Linked DNA regions of Homo sapiens: region 1 is linked to region 2. Evidence: promoter capture Hi-C in 16 types of primary human blood cells and fetal thymus (Javierre and others, 2016). All regions are on one chromosome and are shown on one strand. The core of a region is centred on a gene start or on the middle of the fragment in contact, and the rest is flanking DNA. Distances in the headings are between cores, read along the strand shown.

Evidence for each region. Contacts are between HindIII fragments. The CHiCAGO score rates a contact against its expected background, and 5 or more counts as called.
Region 1: a contact is called between a fragment that was not itself captured here and the fragment with the promoter of QNG1 in region 2, in 2 of 17 cell types (naive CD8 T cells and neutrophils). The highest score is 5.1, in naive CD8 T cells.

Annotation. Positions count from the first base shown.
Region 1 is chr9:84,068,180-84,073,249 of GRCh38, forward strand. All of the region lies in intron 2 of LOC101927575 (a long non-coding RNA gene), which reads left to right. Among named protein-coding and RNA genes, the nearest start is that of RMI1, 90 kb to the left of the region's middle. The HindIII fragment of the contact is 2,886 bases long and covers 109-2,994 here.
Region 2 is chr9:83,952,917-83,958,055 of GRCh38, forward strand. It overlaps QNG1 (Q-nucleotide N-glycosylase 1), which reads right to left and starts at 3,826. Exons shown (of 4, transcript NM_032307.5): 1 at 3,248-3,826; 2 at 2,465-2,724. The coding sequence starts at 3,584. The HindIII fragment of the contact is 8,080 bases long and covers 1-5,139 here.

The DNA.
Region 1 (5,070 bases), core at 302-2,801, 110 kb after region 2:
TAGATGTGAAGTGGAGCCTGTTAGATATAGTTCTAAATTGCTCAGATACATTATATGTGGGGAGAGTAGAAACCTTCAAATAAATGCCAGAAACTGAGGTTTCTAAGAAGCTTTATGCTTTTTAAATAATCATCCTTTTCTCCTTTTTAATTAGAATACAGATATTATATTATGACCAGAGAACATAATGGTTAGAAAGCTCCATCAAATGCACTCTGACCCTTTATAACACTGCAGGGATGTGCAGGCTGTAATTTTCATATATGAGTGCCCTGAAATTCTTCTTTCCTTTTTAAGTTTTCTTTTATGCAGACCTCATAATCCTGCTGCTAATTTGATTCCCTGTCCGTTTTCCTCATTATGCCCAAGCTGCTTCTGGACACTTAAAGTGAATTGAGGCAACTATTTTGATATTGTGGGTGAAAATTAGTTTTAACTAAGACATCCAGATAACAGGTGTATGTGTATATGTGTGTGTGTTTGTGTGTGTGTGTGTGTGTAGTTGGTCTTGGGGGGTATTGACCTGAGGAGATAACATCTCTGGAATGGGCTACCTTGATAAATCACCTGAACTCTCCTCTTCGTAAGCACTAGAGCAATGACAGCAGACATTCTTGCTTTATTCCTGATCTTGGGAGAAAAATCATTCAGCCTTTCATCCCTAAATATAATGTTAGCTGTAGATATTTTGTAGGTACTTGTATTAGTTTGCTAAGGTTTCCATAACAAAGTACCATCAACTGAGTGGCTTAAATAACAGAAGTTTGTTTCTCACATTTCTGGAGCCTAGAAGTCCAAGAACCAGGTGTAGGCAGGTTTATTTTCTTTGGAGCTTCTCTTCCTGGCTTGTGGACGGCCTCCTTCTCGCTATATCCTTATATGGTCTTTCCTCTGTGCGGGCTTATCCCTGGTGCTTCTCTGTTTGTCCAAATTTCCTCTTCTCATAGAGACGACAGTCAGATTGGATTAGGGTCCACCCTAACGGCCTCATTTTGATTTAGTTACCTCTTTAAAGGTTCTGTCTCCAAACACAGTCACATTCTGAGGTACTGGGGATTAGGGCATTACATAAATTTTGGGGTAACACAATTTAGCCCACTGACAATACCTTTTATTAGGTTAAGGAAGTTCCACTCTATTTCGGTTTGCTGAGAGTTTTTAAAATCACGAATGAATATTGAATTTTGCCAAGTGATATTTTTGCATACATTGATAGGATCATGTGGTTTTCTTTAGAATGTCATAATGATGGGTTACATTGATTGATGTTTGCATGTTGAACAAGTATGTTATTCTTTTTTATATCTTGTTGGATTAAATTTGCTAATATTTTATTGAGTGTTTTTGCAAAAATATTCATAAGGCATATCATTTTATTTTCTTGTAATATCTTTGTCTGGACTTAGTATCAGAGTAATGCTGGCCTGATAAAATAAGTTGGGAAGTGTTCCCTTCTCTTTTATTTTCTGGGAAAGTTTGTTTAGAATCTGTATTATTTCGCCAGGCGCGGTGGCTCATGCCTGTAATCCCAGCCAAGGCGGGCGGATCACAAGGTCAGGAGATCCAGACCATCCTGGCTAACATGGTGAAACCCCGTCTCTACTAGAAATACAAAAAAATTAGCCGGGTGTGGTGGCGGGTGCCTGTAGTCCCAGCTACTTGGGAGGCTGAGGCAGGAGAGTGGCGTGAACCCGGGAGGCGGAGCTTGCAGAGAGCCAAGATTGCGCCACTGCACTCCAACCTGGGTGACAGAGTGAGATGCCATCAGAAAAAAAAAAAGAAAAAAGAATCTGTGTTATTTCTTAATTTTTTTTTTTGAGACGGAGTCTTGCTCTGTCTCCCAGGCTGGAGTGCAGTGGCACGATCTTGGCTCACTGTAACCTCTGCCTGCTGGGTTACAAGTGATCTTCCTGCCTCAGCCTCCCTAGTAGCTAGGACTACAGGTGCGTGCCACCACTCCCAGCTAATTTTTGTATTTTTGGTAGAGACAGGGTTTTACCATGTTGGCCAGGCTGGTCTCAAACTCCTGACCTCAAGTGATCTACCAGCCTCGGCCTCCCAAAAGTGCTAGGATTACAGAGGTGAGACACCATGCCTGGCCATTTCGTCTTTAATGGTTTTGGTAGAATTCATCAATTAAGTACCTGGAGCCTGAAGATTTCTTTTTCAGGTGATTTTTAACTCCTAATTCAATTTTCCCCAGGTTTTCTATTTCATCTTGAGTGAGTTGTTAGTTTGTGGTTTGCAGAAGTGCTCCATTTTATCTGTTATTGAATTTATGTGTGTAGAATCGTTTGCAACATCCTCTTATTATTCTTTTAATTTCTACGGTATGTCACCCTTTTTATTCCTGATGTTGGTAGTTTGTGACTTCTCTGTTTTTTCCTTTGTCAGTGTTGCTAGAAGTTTGTATTAGTCTGTTCTCTAATTGCTATTAAGAACTACCTGAGACTGGGTAATTTATAAAGAAAAAAGGTTTAATTGGCTCACACAGTTTTGTAGGCTATACTGGACGCATGGCTGAGGAGGCCTCAAGAAACTTTCAATCATGGTGGAAGGTGAAGAGGAAGGAGGCATGCCTTACACGGCTGGAGCAGGAGGAGGAGAGAGCGAGGGTGGGGGTGCTACACACTTTCGAACAACCAGATCTCGTGAGAACTCACTCACTAACCCGAGAACAGCAAGGAGGAAATCCACCCTCTGGATCCAATCACCTCCCACCAGGCTCCTCCTCCAACACAGGGGGATTACAATTTTACGTGAGATTTAGTCAGGGACACAAATCCAGACCATATCAGGTTTATCCGTTTTATTGATCTTCTTTTTTAGTCTTGATGGAAACTTATCAATCGTATTGATCTCTTAAAGGGAACTACCTCTTTGTTTCACTAATATTCTCTACTGTTTTTCTTTTTTCCGTTTCATTGATTGTTGCTTTTAACTTTTTTATCCTCTTCCTTGTGCTTGCATTGGATTTATTTTGTTCCAGGTAGAAGCTTAAATGAACTAATTTGAGACCTTCTTTCTTAATGTGAGCATTTAATGCTTTAAATTTCCCTCTAAGCTCTCCTTTAATTTCATTCCATAATTTTTGATATATTGTAGTTTTATTTTATTCAGTTAAAAATATTTTCTAATTTCCCTTGATAACTCCGCTTTGACCCATGGATTATTTAGAAGTATATTGTTTAATTTCCAAGTGTTTTGTAGATTTTCCTGTTATCTTCCTATTATTGATTTCTAGCTTAATTCCATTACAGTCAGGGAACATACTTTGCATGACTCAACTCTTTGAAATCTATAGGATACACTCTGTCTTGGTGAATGTTTCATAAGTATCTGAAAAAAATGTACAATCTACCTGTCGAATGAAATGTCCTATAATGAAATTAGATTTAGTTGGTTGATAGTATTGTTCTGTTCTATATCCTTGCTAATTTTATATCTACTAGTTCTGTTGATTAGCGAGAGAGAAGTATAGAAGTCTCCAATTATAATTTTGGATGTATCTATTTCTTCTTTTAGTTCTCTCACTTTTTAGTTCATGAAGCTTTATGTTTTTTACTTGTTCATTTGTTTGTTTTGTGACAAGGTCTCACTTTGTCACCCAGGCTGGATTGCAGTGGTGTGAACACAGCTCACTGCAGCCTCAACTTCCCAGGCTCAAGTGATCCTCCTGCCCTTAGCCCCCCAAGTAGCTGAGACTACAGGTGTGCACCACCACGCCTGGCTAATTTTTGTATTTTTCATGGAGATGGGGTTTTGTCACGTTGCCCAGGGTTGTCTCAAACTCCTGAGCTCAGGTGATCTGCCCACCTTGGCTTCCCAAAGTGCTAGGATTATAGGTGTGAGCCACTGCGTCCAGCCTGCTTTGTTGTTAGGTGCATACACATTTAGGATTGTTATGTGTTTTTGATGAACTGACCCTTTTATCATTGTATAATGTCTCTTTATCCCTGGCTCTAACATTTACTTTGTCTGTTACTAATAACGCCATGCCAGCTTTCTTTTAATTCGTGTTTGAATGGTATATTCTTTCCATTATTTTACTTAACATACCTATATCTTTATATTTGTGGTGCATTTCTTGTAGGCAACATGTGATCTCATGTTTTTATTGACTTCTAAATCCATTTATATCCATTCTGATCTCTGTCTTTTAATTGATATAGTTAGAATATTTACACTTAATTTAGCATTTACATGTAATTATTGAAATATCTAAATTTGAACCTACTATTTTATTATATGTGTTCTGTTTTTCCTCTGATTTTTATTTCTCTATTTCCCTTTCAGCTTCTTTTCTGGGGATAGTTGAACAAATTTTAGTATTCTATTTAATTTGTTCATTTTGTCTTTGACCGTTTTTTGGTATTTCTTTTTAGTAGTTGATCTAGGGATTATAATAACATCATAATAATATATAATAGCATAACTCATAACATTCTACTTAGAATCAATATTATACCTCTTCAAGTATGTTCAGTAAAGGATTAATTCAGCAGGCTTGCAATGTTCAAGGCCTGAACATTCCCAAAAAAGGACTGGCCTTTGACCAGCTTCTGGGAGGTAATCTCTAAGCCCTTTGAATATCCTGTTTGATAGAAGTATCTTTGTATACCTGGGCCTTGGGCCTTGCCAGATAGTTTATGCCAACAGTGTGATTTATGACTGGGGCCTTGTCCACGTTGTATCCGTTTGACCTCTGTAGAAGCTGGAGACTGAGTAAGGTTTGTCATATGGATGTTTCATGCCTATGTGGCCAACCCCCAAAACAAATCCTGGACACCAAATCCTGGCACTGGTTGGCAGTCAGCCATATGTGTTTTCACACATCATTGTGGGGAAAATTAAGAAGACAACTGGAAGCTTGCTCTTGGTTTCTCCTGAACTCTGCCCCATGCATTTTTTACCTTTGCTGATTTTATCTGTATCCTTTTGCTGTAATAAGCCGTAACCATGATCATTAACAGCTTTTCTGAGTTCTGTGAATCTTTCTAGCAAATCAGTGAACCTGAGTGTGGTTGTAGGGACCCCAACACAAAGTGAAATGTAGAATCTTGCCACCAT
Region 2 (5,139 bases), core at 2,576-5,075:
GTCACCGCACTACAGCCTGGGTGACAGAGTGAGACTCTGTCTCAAAAAAAAAAAAAAAAAGTATCAGATTGGCTGGGCATGGTGGCTCAAGCCTGTAATCCCAGCACTTTGGGAAGCTGAGGTAGGCAGATCACTTGAGGTCAGGAGTTCAAGACCAGCCTGGCCAACATGGTGAAACCCTGTTTCTACTAAAAATACAAAATTAGCTGGGCATGGTGGCGGATGCCTGTAATCCCAGCTACTTGGGAGACTGAGGCAGGAGAATCATTTGAACCCAGGAGGTGGAGGTTGTAGTGAGCCAAGATACTGCCACTTTCTGGTACATTTTTTAAAAATTGAACTTTTCAGCAAAGCAAAACCAAAGCACTGTGCTATAAATGAAATGCAGTTCTTTATAGCAGTGTGAGAACACACTAATACAATTGAATTCTTTTTTTTTTTTTTTCTTGAGATAGAGTCTTGCTCTTGTCGTCCAGGCTGGAGTGCAGTGGCATGATCTCAGCTCACTGCAACCTTCAGCTCCTGGGTTCAAGTGGTTCTCCTGCCTCAGCCTCCTGAGTAGCTGGGATTACAGGCACCCACCACCACACCCGGCTAATTTTTATATTTTTAGTAGAGACGGGGTTTCACCACGTTGGCCAGGCTGGTCTTGAACTCCTGACCTTGTGATCTACCCGCCTTGGCCCCCCAAAGTGCTGGGATTACAGGTGTGAGCCACCACGCCAAGCCAATTTCTTTTATTTTTTCTTTTATTTTTTTGAGATGGAGTCCAGCTCTGTCACCCAGGCTGGAGTGCGGTGGCGTAATCTCGGCTCACTGCAACCTCCCCCTCCCAGGTTCAAAAGATTCCAAAAGAATTTTACAAAAACAAAATCCGGGTGCAGCCTGTGAGGGTCCAACAAAATGATCATCATTTGTTCAAGTACACTGTGTATGAAAAAGAAAACACAAAATATATATACAGTACACTGAACTTTTCAAGAAATACTTTTTTGAGATAGAGTCTAATTCTGTCTCGTCTAGGCTGGAGTGCAGTGGTGCAATCTCGGCTCACTGCAGCCTCCACCTCTCGGGTTCAAGCGATTCTCCTGCCTCAGCCTCCTAAGTAGCTGGGACTACAGGTGCGTGCAACCATACCCAGCTAATTTTTGTATTTTTAGTAGAGATGGGGTTTCACCATGTTGCTAGGCTGGTCTTGAGCTCCTGACCTCAGTTGATCCACCTACCTAGGCCTCCCAAAGTGCTGGGATTACAGGAGTGAGCCACCGAGTCTGGCCAGAAATACTTTTTATTAGGGAGAGGTTAGTATACATTCTGATCTTCAACCAATAAAGTAACCTTCTTGAAGTACTAAAAATACTTAATTTTCCATAAGGAGAACATTACATGGAGGGTTCCATGTTTTTTAGGTTTGAAACATTTTAAAAGGAAAAAAAAGGAAGTAAAGAATGAAATATTGATTAGAAAACATAAGAAATGAGATGAAACTCCATCTCTACTAAAAATACAAAAAAACTTAGCCAGGTGTGGTGGCATGCGCCTGTAGTCCCAGCTACTCAGGAGGCAAAGGCAGGAGAATCGCTTGAACCCGGGAGGCGGAGGTTGCAGTGAGCTGAGATAGTGCCACTGCACTCCAGCCTGGGAGTCAGAGCAAGACTCCATCTCAGGGAAAGAAAAAAAAAAGGCCCGGCACAGTGGCTCACGCCTGTAATCCCAGCACTTTGGGAGACCGAGGTGGGTGGATCACGAGGTCAGGAATTCAAGACCAGCCTGGCCAACATGGTGAAACCCCGTCTCTACTAAAAATACAAAAATTAGCCTAGCGCAGTGGCGGGCACCTGTAATCCCAGCTAGTCGGGAGACTGAGGCAGGTGAATCACCTGAACCCGGGAGGCGGAGTTTGCAGTGAGCCAAGATCGCGCCACTGCACTCTAGCCTGGGTGACAGAGTAAGAGTCCATCTCAAAAAAAAAAAAAAAAAAAAAAAAAGGAAAGAAATGACGCCAGCGTGGTGGTTCACGCCTGTAATCACAACACTTTGGGAGGCTGAGGCGACCAGATTACCTGAGGTCGGGAGTTTGAGACCAGCCTGGCCAACATAGTGAAACCCCGTCTCTACTAAAAATACATAAAATTAGCCGGGCTTGGTGGCGCATCCCTGTAATCCAAGCTACTCGGGAGGCTGAGGCAGGAGAATCGCTTGAACCCGGGAGGCAGAGGTTGCGGTGAGCCAAGATCACGCCACTGCACTCCAGCCTGCGCAACAAGAGCAAAACTCTGTCTCAAACAAACAAACAAAAGAAAACATAAGAAATGACTTTGAAACACTACTTGATTTTGTTAGTTTCTTCCACAAGGAATACATTTAAAAATTTAAGTTTTTATTCTTAAAATGAGTTCTGGAAGTAAAAGAGTTAACTCTGAGATGATTAAGACTTCTAAAATCCCCAACAGAAGCAACTCACCTCAAACAGAGTCACATCTCTGTAAGAAGGAAAACTTTCAACCACCAGGTGCATTAACTTCTGCGCACTATTCTCACTTTCTCGGACGCAGTTGAGAAAAGAGCCTCCAAACTTCTCCAGCAGAATTTTCCCGGTTTCATTGAGAATCCGATGCCTCTCTTCTACTAAAGGCATGGAAACGTCTGTGTCAGAACGAAGTATATTCCGAACCTGATCCAGGGTCACTGTCGCGTAGTACGAGGCACTAGTTATTGGTATCCCTTTAGTGAAAAAATAAAATTCAGAGGACCAATGTCATACTTCCATATGCATTAAACCCTTGCTTTTACAACATGGAATTAATATGAAACCAAATGAGTGGTATAGGAATGCACCAAAAGTGGAAGAATAAAAAATCTAAAGCAAAACTCATTTTCTACTTGTTCATCTGTACTTATTCACCCATTTCTAACTATTGCAATATTACATCAGATGTATTCTGAGTAAATTGCTTTATAACATCGGTCCTTTTGTTCTTCAGGTGTCATTCAAATGGCATTCTTTATAAAACTGACTTTTATGCTACTGTAACTTTTATGCTGCAATGATAAATATTAACATCATTTTCCACTAAAATATGCCCCTTTTCATACTTCTATTTTAAGCATAAGGACTTGCAACGAACTTCAGGTTCGCTTTCCATTATTCCATCTCCCAACCCGCTCCTTGGAACTCCCCTACACACACCCCAAGTAAATGGAAACCTCAAAGGCCGTTAGGTCCGATGGCAAGTATGGCACCAACCTTCGTCGAGGGCTCTGTTGACGGCGGCGCACAGGGACCAGTACCCACTGTATGTTTTCCCTCTGTACCTCACCACACACTTGTGCTCGTCCTGCTCCGACCAAAAGGAGAAGTTGAGCGTGTCTGTCACGAACACCCAGTTGACCGCGGCCTCGTCGGCCGCCCTGGGGTTCAGCTCATGAAGGGCTTTCCACCCCTCCACGCGCAGCTCTGGCCCCGCCGCCTTGGCCAGCAGCAGCTCTGCCACCCTCCGTACGCCTCCGCTGTCAATAAACACATCCCGACTGTTTTCTGCAATGAATTTAGAGGATTCCCTGGGATTTAGGAGCCCGTCCATTCTGCCCTTTGGGACCCGGCGGGCCAAACTCTTCCCGCCCTAGGCGGGTCAAGGTCCACTCTGCGCCTTGCGCTACTACGAACCGCGCGATCACAGGGCCTAAACAAGGTCCCGCCCTGCCAGGGAGTGGCACCGAGAACTTAGTGCAGCCAAGGTAAAGGTTCTCTCCCGCGGCGTTGCCCTGATTAGGAAACCAGAGAGACCCCGGGGCAGCTCGCTGGGCAGAGGCCGCAAGCACTTCCGGGAAAGCGGTCCCGTTCACGCCCTCTCGGGCGCGCTCTCAGGCTCCGCTTCCGGTTCCAAAGGTCTGGAAACTGCTAAGGGTCCGGCGTTCACCGGCCGTGAGTTGCCCACCCTGGGAGGTGCATGGCTTTGCCATGTTTTGCCTTTTCTCACCCCGCTTCGGACAGGTGGGACTCGAAGACGGCGACTCGCCGCCTTGCCCTGGGTCGCGATGCCCCCACCCCGCTCCCACCCCTCTCCTTTCCCGCAGCCTGAGCAAGACGCCTTCGGCAACGCCCCGCATCCGGGCTCCTTGGCCTCGAAGAGCATTATGGCCGTAGATCTGGGTGCTGAGGACTGAGCCACCCCCAGACTGCGACATGGGCGGCGGTGCCTCCTTCCCCAAGCCCCAGGGAGTGTTTTTTTGTTTGTTTTGTTTTTTGTTTTTGTTTAAGTGAATTCCTGGCCCATTTGGCCGAACGAACGTTAGGATTAGTTGGAAGGTTTGGAGAAATGGATGAGGAAACAAATGTGTTAAATTGTTAAATTAACCTTGTGTGCCTGGCAGTGTACTTAAGTACTAAATCTCACCTAGGCTGGGTCATGACGAAAGCGGCTATTGTGATCCCGCTTTTGCAAGTGAAGCTGAGTGGTTCATTGATTAACCCCCATCACAGCAATGGTTTGGGCTAGGATTTAAACCTTTGATAATTGAGCCCCCTAAATCGAGGGCACTTTATGAGCCAATCACCAGTGCCAACCATTCTGGTCAGTCAAATAGTGACTATATCAGTGGCCCTACTGAGAAGACATTAAAAATGAGGAAATAAGTGTCTCACAACTGCAAACTTACACAAGTACCTTATATTAGGAGAGAGGTGTAGAAGCCAATTTAGTGATGATCCAAATTTGACTGGTGATGAAGTTTTAGTATAAAGGTATGCATTTTTTTTCCTTTTGGAGACTTAAATCTCCATGGATAACGTTCACATCTTTGAAAATCACCTATTAAAAATAATCATCAGTACCCATCTCTAGTTACCGACAGGAAAATCTTGGTATTTTTGGAGGATTCGGAGCTTTTAAATTTGTTTGTTTGAGACAGAATCTCACCCTGTCGCCCAGGCTGGAGTGCAGTGGCATGATCTCAGCTCACTGCAACCTCCACCTCCCCGGTTCAAGTGATTCTCCCTGCCTCAGCTTCCCAAGTAGCTGGGATTATAGGTGTCAGCCACCACACCTGACTAATTTTTGTATTTTTAGTAGAGATGGGGTTTCCCTATGTGGGCCAGGCTGGTCTCAAACTCCTGACCTCAGGTAATCCACCCTCCTC